Linked DNA regions of Homo sapiens: regions 1 and 2 are each linked to region 3. Evidence: promoter capture Hi-C in 16 types of primary human blood cells and fetal thymus (Javierre and others, 2016). All regions are on one chromosome and are shown on one strand. Each heading gives the region's core, a stretch centred on a gene start or on the middle of the fragment in contact. The rest is flanking DNA. Distances are from core to core; before and after follow the strand shown. Region 1 overlaps QKI (QKI, KH domain containing RNA binding). Region 2 overlaps LOC102724152 (a long non-coding RNA gene). Region 3 holds the start of AGPAT4 (1-acylglycerol-3-phosphate O-acyltransferase 4).

Region 1 (2,700 bases), core at 91-2,590, 2.1 Mb before region 3:
AGAAAAGTCTGTTTTTTTAAAAACCATATATTAACTGCTCTAAGGGTTCAGTTGAAAACGTCTCTCTAAAGGTAGAGCAGTTTAAGACCTAGGTTTTATGTGTAATCCTATAATCATCTCTATCTTCAATAAAAGGTTTCAAACTCAAGTTTATGTCCTTTATATTTTATGATGGGCCCAACCTAAAATGTATTCACAACTTTAAAAAACAACCGTGTTGAAGATACTTCAGTGGAAGAGCTGGCACACACACCCCCACCACCAGCAACAGCAAAAAACAAAACAAAACAAAAACAAGCAGTAAAACAAAAGGACTGTCCACAGTCAAGATACAGACTAAAGGTTAACTTGGCAAGGAATTAAAATACTCATTCTAAAACATCCAAGTCTTCATCAACTGGGAAAACCAGCACACTTAATCCTCAAATTTGTAACTAGCCAAATGGAAATTCTTAGGCTGACAAGCATATTTTTAAAAAGCTTATTCTTTGAAAAATATTTTAAAATAAAAAATTTAAAATCTCATTTAAAATTCCTAATTATCAGAAAATACATCTACTCTAAGCACGATGTTAACTTCATCAAACCAATCACTAAAGTAAAATTTTTACTAAATTTTATCTAAATTTAAAAGTAATTTTTCAGCCAAGCATTATAGGCAAAAAAAAAAAAGTAATGCCTAACCAGAAACAAAAGTCATGATCAATTTGTTTTGGACAATGACAAACCACAAAGGGGTAAAGCACAAGATGCCAAATTTCACAATTAAATCATCCAGAAAAAAAAATGTGATGGACTTCAGAAACCAATATTTTTCTTAAGTCAAATTAAGTTTATAACAAGGCTAACAATTACAGGAAGCCGCTTATTCCACACTAAGGAATAGCCCTTTTTCCTGCATGTTTGTACTGGTCTGATAAAAAACAATCAAACTTCCTCGTCATTATATTGCCCATTTTAAACATACTATATGCCACACAGAAGCAATCTTTACACTGGGGAATTGACAAGGCTAAAACTAAAGATAGCAAGACAAGAGATGGAGTAAACCACATTAAAAGGGGAAGGGGAAACAAACATTATCTAGGAGATATCATAGTGGTCTCTTACATTTAAAACGCAAACGAGTACTATTTCCAACCAGAGAGAAATAAGCCTTTGTCAGAGACAATGACATAATTGAAATTTCTGGATTTGAAAGATTAAAAATTATTAAAGCCTAAGGTTGGAAACTTGATAACAAGGAATCAGCTCTAAATTTAGAGATTTTAGATCAACATAAAAGCACAAGAAGCCTTTTAAAACTAAAGAACGCAAAAGTATGCAGCTTTTTAAATAGTATACATAAGGTGAAAGTATTTTCAAACTTTTTTTTGGAATCTCCTATAGTCTTTGAATTCGACATTTCAGGAATGCAATTTAATTTTAATTAACCCTAAATATTGCCAAGGCCTATTTTCATTTTATCGTCGATAAAGGATTCCTTCTAAACAACTGCACTCAAGAAAACAAACTTTCACCAGAAATTGTTACTAATACTACTAAAACTTTAACTTAACCAAAATATGCCAAGGAGAAGACAGTAAGAGTGTTATTTTGAAACGTCATAAAGTTGTGCCAATAATTTTAAGGAAAGTATTTTCAATGTTCGAAAACACTATATAAACACATTATGACAAATCAAATAATCTATAACTTAAGTTTCAACTAAATTTAATATAGGTCAGTCAGATTGAGTATGTTACACATTTTGTTCCAACCATTTCCATGGTTAAAAAATAACTGGCGCCCCTTAGCGCTCACATTTGGAAATACTCAATTTAAGAGTTCCAGCATTTTTTTTTTTTTTTTGACATTCCAGAAAGTTTTCTGCCTCCACAATCTTTCAAATGCCAACACAAATAGGAAAAGCAGAACCCCTTAAAGGGACAGCTCAGGTTTTCTCTGGAGCAACTTGAAATTAACAGATTTGCTGTTCCAACAGCGGAAAATGCCCATTTCAACGTTGGTGAGTGCTGTATGTTTAACATACGGAAGCAAAACGACGAGAAAGCCGTAACACCTAACCATTTTCTACTTTTAAGTTGTTTCTATGACTTTCAAGACAACAGAACTCCTGGGATTTTTCTTTAACCATTTTTTATCATGGAAACATTTCCGGCCTTTTGTTCTCTAGTGACATTCCAACTCCCCAAGCTTCAAACTCCTGTTCCCCGACTCTATTTTTAAAATCTCGAAATTCTTGCGAAAAATCTAAACTCCATTGTTCATCTCTTCAACCTGTAGTTTTCAGTTTCCTTTACACAGTCCTCCGGTGGTGCCTCTAAGCAGGAAAAAAAAACAAACAAACTCCTGGCCAGTCGATTTTCGAAACAGACTTTTTTTGTGGTCTTTTTTTTCTCTAGGCGTCCACAGAAACCCACAGCTACTAGAAATTAATACTTCAGGTACTGCTATGAGAACTTCTTAAGGAAATTCCAAAGTTGGTCAACATTAATCTTCTTGTCATTCTTCACTCCCCACAGCGCTCCATACAGCTTTTTGGAAACTTTGGCTCAATTTTATTTCGCCCTTTCCAAACGTCTCGAAACCCTGTCCTACAAACTCAGGCGGCTGCGTCCCCGGGAGCAAACCCTCCGCCCAAGTTCTTCTAACTCAGGCTGCGCTCCGATCTGTCATCGCGTTATTTCGCACTCCACC
Region 2 (2,928 bases), core at 213-2,712, 2.4 Mb before region 3:
TGTATGTATGAGTGTTTCTGGGTGTATGTCTATATGTGACTGTGTCTGTGTGTCTGTGTATCTGTGTGAGTGTGACTCTGTGTGTGTGACTCTGTGTGTGTGTGTGTGTGTATGAGTGTTTCTGGGTGTATGTCTGTATGTGACTGTGTCTGTGTGTGTATCAGTGTGAGTGTCACTCTGTGTGTGTGACTGTGTGTGTGTGTATGAGTGTTTCTGGGTGTGTCTGTGTGAGTGTGACTCTGTATGTATTAGCCTATGTCTGTGTGTATGAGTGTCTCTGGGTGTGTGTCTGTGTGTGTCTCTGGGTGTAAAGTGTGTGTCCCAAAATGCTAAAAATGGTGGCTTGGACACAGCAAACACTCAATTTTTCAAGAAATGAATAAATGACACAAACTGCCTCTCCCCAGATACCTTTTCTTTGCATCAATCTATGAAATCTGTGTATGTATATAACTGTTAGGCCAGACTTGAAAATATACATTTTCTACCACCCTTACTTGGATTTAAAATAGAATTGGCCAGAGCTGTGGTCTTCTAGTAGAGTTAATCACCTTGCCGATATATCCCTGTTGATTAACTGATGGAGTCAATGCAGGCTTTTTGTCAATTTCCCTTCCTATTGGATAATTTCTCTCCTTCAAGAGAAATTAGGGCACTAGAGACCATATACTCAAAATCCATTACATAATTTACTTTTAATCCCAAGAGAAACCAAGACTGATGAAGGCTTTGCTGTGCCCTGAAAGATTGACTCATAAGGGTTGGGGGCAGAGACGCTCACCTGGTCCAGCCCTGCTGCATCCTCATGCTTGCAGGTTCTGAGCCGGGTATCCAGTCTGCTTCTTTAAGCCAATTCTATCTGAACTGGTCAGTCTTTAACTTCTTGCATTTAAAGTTTGTGAAGAACTGTGTTTCACCCAAAATTCGTTCATTTGCTAGGACACCGTCCCTCTGCCGCATAGGACTCTGTCAGCCCGTGGAAATGGGTGCCACTTTGCAAGCGGGCAAGATGCTTCTCAGCCCACTCCAGAATGCCTGTATCTGCTGACCCTGGAAGTGCTGTCTCCATCAGGCCCAAATCCAGAAGTCCAATCTGCCCCAAGAAGGCCCTCGCTTCTCTCTGGAGTTCAAGAGAACCTTCTGGGTATTCCAGATACCTCTGACCAACCAAGGGTGAGAGCAACCCCCACAGAGTGGTGTCACATTAAATATGGCACTTAGAGAAATCTCAGCCAAAAATTAGATTCTGCAATTATGTCCCTTAGTTTCAAGGCTGCAATCCAGGAATAGTCCTGACCACTTGTACCCCCTCTTTCCCAGGAAGCTGCTAAATGCCATATAGACCATATTCACAGGGATTCAGCTTTCTTCCTATCATTGAAAAGGAGCCATCAGTGATCCCAAGAGGGGATGAGGCCTAAGGCTGGTGGAGGAGCCCAGGAGCAATGGGGGATACGCTCATTGTGGGAAGGCTGTAACTGTGGGTGAGAGTGTTCATCTTGGTTGCAGAAGGAGGACTGCTCAGGTAGAAGGAAGAGGGAGCTGTCTCAAACCAGCAATGGGGGGTCTCCAGACACAGCGACATTAAGGTGGGCACATAGGAGGGCTCAGCAAAGGGCATGACCTGAAAGCCTTCAGGCAGGATGCAAGGACTGTGTCCTGGCGAGAAAAACCATTGAGCCTTCAGAGTCTTTATAATGACCCCAAAATATCCCAATGTTGACTCAGATCTGACTGGCATTTGGCAGTCACGGTGTCCCCATGATGACATTTGATAATACCTTCCTTCCCTGCCTTCAGCCATTGCTTGCTTCGAGCTTGCTTTTGATGTCCCTCACTTTTGTCCAAAATAAACTCTCTGCCGCAGCCAGCCCTGGCGGCTTCTCTCCGGCACATGAACTTGGCTCCCATGCCCACATGCCAGTGGAGTTTCCATAAGAAGCTATGGCATCCTTTCGTGATTCATTCTCAGGATTCATCCAGACCAGCTCCTCACCCAGAAAGGTGACCATCAGGAGTGGGCGACCCAACAGCACTGAGTCCCCAACTCCAAGCAAGCGGCCCCTCCACCTCCCCTGCCTCCAGGCCTTGTTCTCGCAGTTCTCCCTCCCAGAGCCCCCTCCCTTGTCTTCCTCACCTAACAAAACCCTAACCATCTCCCAAGGCCCAGTTTAGATCCTTCTTCCTCCATGGAGCCTCCTCTGCTCGGCCCAACCAGAGGAGAGGGCTCATTCCCATGAACTTATAGAAGCCATATAGGTCAAGGAAGGAGGCTCTTCAGTTTAGCCTTTATCGGAACAGCTTCTGTGAGCTAGGCACTCTGCTTAGGGCTTTCTGGGAAGGACTAATCGAATCCTCGTTGTAGGTACTATTATTAGCTACCATTCTCAGTTGGGGAAACTGAGGCACTAAGACGACAATGGACATACCCAAGGTCACCACTGATAAGCAGCCATTCGGGTGCTGAAACCCCAGTGCACTGGCCCTAGCGCTGGGCTCTGCACCACCTCCCGGGCCACCCTCCTGTTCCTTTTCCATTGGACACTCAGCCCCACGTGGCCTTGAGTCAGCTTTGGAGTTTGTCATTCTATATGCCCATGTCACCCCTGCAACCAGAGGGCAGGGACCATGGCTCAGTGTCTAGGAATGAAGCCGGCGGGGGTCCAGAAGGGCCTGAGGACTCTGGGTCCTGCCGTGAAGCACGGGGAGGAATCTGGGCAAGCCCTTTCTCTGTTTTGCTTCAAATCCACAGACTAACCAATATTTCTGTTTAGAGGTCCCTTGAATATGTTACTCCCGAGCCCAGGAGTAAAGAGGGAAATGGCTCAGTGGCCTGGGCTCTGTCACTGAATCTACATCTCTGTGTCAGGGGACCGCACACACTGCGGCTGGACGCTGGGTTTCTGTCCTTGTCACACGCGTTCCCTC
Region 3 (2,700 bases), core at 73-2,572:
AAGTTACGAGAGATGATGACTACAAGGAACTTTTTATAAAAATCTTTTATAAGCATTACTCTGTGGTCAAATTTATTTTCACATGGATATTAAAACAAGTTATTGCTACAAATGGGTTTCTGTTCTGATCCTTTTTTTGTTTGCCTCACATATCCTTTCTCTTCCACCACATTCTGCTTCACTCTCCCCGTCTCTCATCACAGACAAGAAAAATGCCACCTCCCATAGGACCCACTCCAAACCCTGTTTCCTGAATGATCAATGCCTTCCCCCATCGCAATCAAAAAAGCACTTTCTATTCTGTCTTCATGACACACTGGTTTTGACACTTGCATAGCTGTTAGTAATTCTGCAATGTGCTTGGGCTATTTGTGAGCACATGTATTTTTCCTTTATAGATTATAAACATCTAAAGAACAAGGTTAACCCAGGAGTCAAGTAAATAGTTAAATATTATTTTGACAATGGCTGTAATAGTGGACATTTGAAAGGAATACACCTCAGTATTTTGAAATTGAAATAATTTTCTAGATCCTGGCATTTCTGGACTTTCAACAGCCCACCCTTTTTAAAAATTGTGAAGACACTTTTACTATAAAGGTCTGCCCAGACCCTCTCTGATACACCTGTGTAAATGCCACGTGCATGTGAGCATGCGACAGTACGTGTGTGCACGCCTGTGCAGTGGTAATCAACCATGGTGCTAAGGTTTGAAAACAGAAAATACATCAATCGACCTCCAAGCTTCTTTCATCCCACTTCATAACATCTCAATCTCTTGAGTGCTGAGGCTTATTTTGTTTAAGATGATTTGGACTCTTCTGAGTGCAACGCAATCTCCTTCCAGCACAGCGGACCGAGGAGAGGTGAGGGGAGAGTTTTGAGGGTGGGCATATTGATCCTACGCTTGCTGAATTAAAAATGAGCCAACTGAGGACAATTTCCAGGTTGCAACACAGACGGAGCCGGAGTCTGGGTTGAGGTTAGAGGAGCCGTTAGGGCGCAGGGATGCAACAGGATTTGGGAGAAAGGGGAGAGAAAGCAAGGCCACTTCCAGGGGGCTTTCATTTTTTTTTTATCCTGGCAGCTTCCCGAGCCAGATTTCAAAAGCGATTTCAAACGTGAAGCCAACTGAAGCACTGCCTTACACTAATTGGAAGGGGAAGGGAGTGACTCATATTACACCAGCTCGCTCTTCCCTCTCGGCAACTGCTAACTTGTAGCTTTAAAAGGAAGTGACATGGGTGGGGAGAGACGTCAGCTGAGGACCACTTTTTTTTTTTTTTTCTTCCTGAAGGGTCCACCCCATGGGTGGAGTCTCGCTTTTTCTTTCCAGTGTTGGCTGACTTACAGCTCTTATAAACTAGTGGCAATTTCTGAACCCAGCCGGCTCCATCTCAGCTTCTGGTTTCTAAGTCCATGTGCCAAAGGCTGCCAGGAAGGAGGTATGTGGTCCTGGTGCCGTTCGCAGGCACCTTCCCCGCTGGGTGTGGCTGATGTTTGCATTCCTCTTCCCAGCATATTTTTCTCTCCTGGGCTGGATTTCCTTAGGACCTCTGGAAGGGGTAGGCTCCGGGGGCGGGGGGGGAGTGCAAGGCGGGCGGGGGAAAGGTGCAGGGGGCGCCTGGAGGGAGGCGAAGAGAGGCTCTGCTGGTACAAAAGGACCCTCGCTTTGTGCTGGGCCGGGTGAGCGTCCCTTTCTGGGCTGTGATTTCAAGCTGCTGTTCCTGGCTTCATTTACCCACCCACCCAGCCCCCTCCCGGGGCTAAAGCATTTTCTCTGCTATAGACGAAGCTGGGCGGGGGGTGGTGGTGGGGGGAATGTTCCTATTACATATTGCTCTCTTTTGTGTCATGCAACATGTTCTTCCGTCGCTGACGTTTCTATGGCAACCACAAAAATACTACACAATATGCAGCCCCGATATACATTGATTTATTTGTATTTTGTGTCTAGTTTGCAGCTTTCTGCTCTGCTTCTTGCTTTGGTTTGCTAAAATCCAGCATGGCTTGTGGCTACCCCTCCTCACTTTCATTTTGGTTTTTCCCTATCACAGGAGGGGTGGGGGAGGGGAGTTGTCAAGGAAACAGGCATTGGTAATTACCTCTCTATTTACCTAATTTTCGGCCTATGAATTTCTCCATATCGAGGAATTAAAAAAAGAATGCTTTGATGTTTATGTAAGTCTTCAGTGTCTGGTCTTTTTTTAGAAAACCTAAACACTTCTTAAGATAAGATATTGATCCTGTGGTCAAGCTAAGGGGGAATTAATTCCTTACAGGAGGTGAGATCATTGAAATAAAGTTTTAGAGAGCATTGGAGAATTCGCACTGATAAATGTGATATTGCCTGCCCAGGTTTGCCTAAAAGCTTAAATATTTAAAAGATGGGTCTTTGCTCTCATCTGCACTTATTTAGCTCCAAATCTTAAGTTCAACAAGTATGAGTAACAAATTAACTGCCGGGCAGGATTCTCCGTTTTTCGTTTTCGTGCATTGTTCTTAGATGGATTAGCCACGCTATTCACTCTCTTCAAGGTGAGGGTTGCTAGACTTTTTCAAAACTGTGGAAGGATTAACTCATCTGTGATTAGTCAACGACTCTCAGTTGGAAAAAAAGTATCTTGAGAGAAGGGAGAATGTGTGTGTTTGTGTGTGTGTGTGTGTGTGTGTGTGTTTAGGGAAATGGGAGGCGGGCAG

Evidence for each region. The method cuts DNA at HindIII sites, captures the fragments that hold promoters and counts their contacts. A CHiCAGO score of 5 or more calls a contact.
Region 1: a contact is called between a fragment that was not itself captured here and the fragment with the promoter of AGPAT4 in region 3, in 2 of 17 cell types (total CD8 T cells and non-activated CD4 T cells). The highest score is 9.3, in total CD8 T cells.
Region 2: a contact is called between a fragment that was not itself captured here and the fragment with the promoter of AGPAT4 in region 3, in 1 of 17 cell types (M0 macrophages). The highest score is 7.1, in M0 macrophages.

The regions. Positions count from the first base shown.
Region 1 is chr6:163,416,067-163,418,766 of GRCh38, reverse strand. The region is part of intron 1 of QKI (QKI, KH domain containing RNA binding); the gene reads right to left. Among named protein-coding and RNA genes, the nearest start is that of QKI, 2.7 kb to the right of the region's middle. The HindIII fragment of the contact is 1,716 bases long and covers 483-2,198 here.
Region 2 is chr6:163,662,669-163,665,596 of GRCh38, reverse strand. LOC102724152 (a long non-coding RNA gene) reads left to right here. Exons shown (of 2, transcript NR_134620.1): 2 at 940-1,231. Among named protein-coding and RNA genes, the nearest start is that of QKI, 250 kb to the right of the region's middle. The HindIII fragment of the contact is 4,562 bases long and covers 1-2,928 here.
Region 3 is chr6:161,272,683-161,275,382 of GRCh38, reverse strand. AGPAT4 (1-acylglycerol-3-phosphate O-acyltransferase 4) reads left to right here and starts at 1,322. Exons shown (of 9, transcript NM_020133.3): 1 at 1,322-1,445. The HindIII fragment of the contact is 1,627 bases long and covers 747-2,373 here.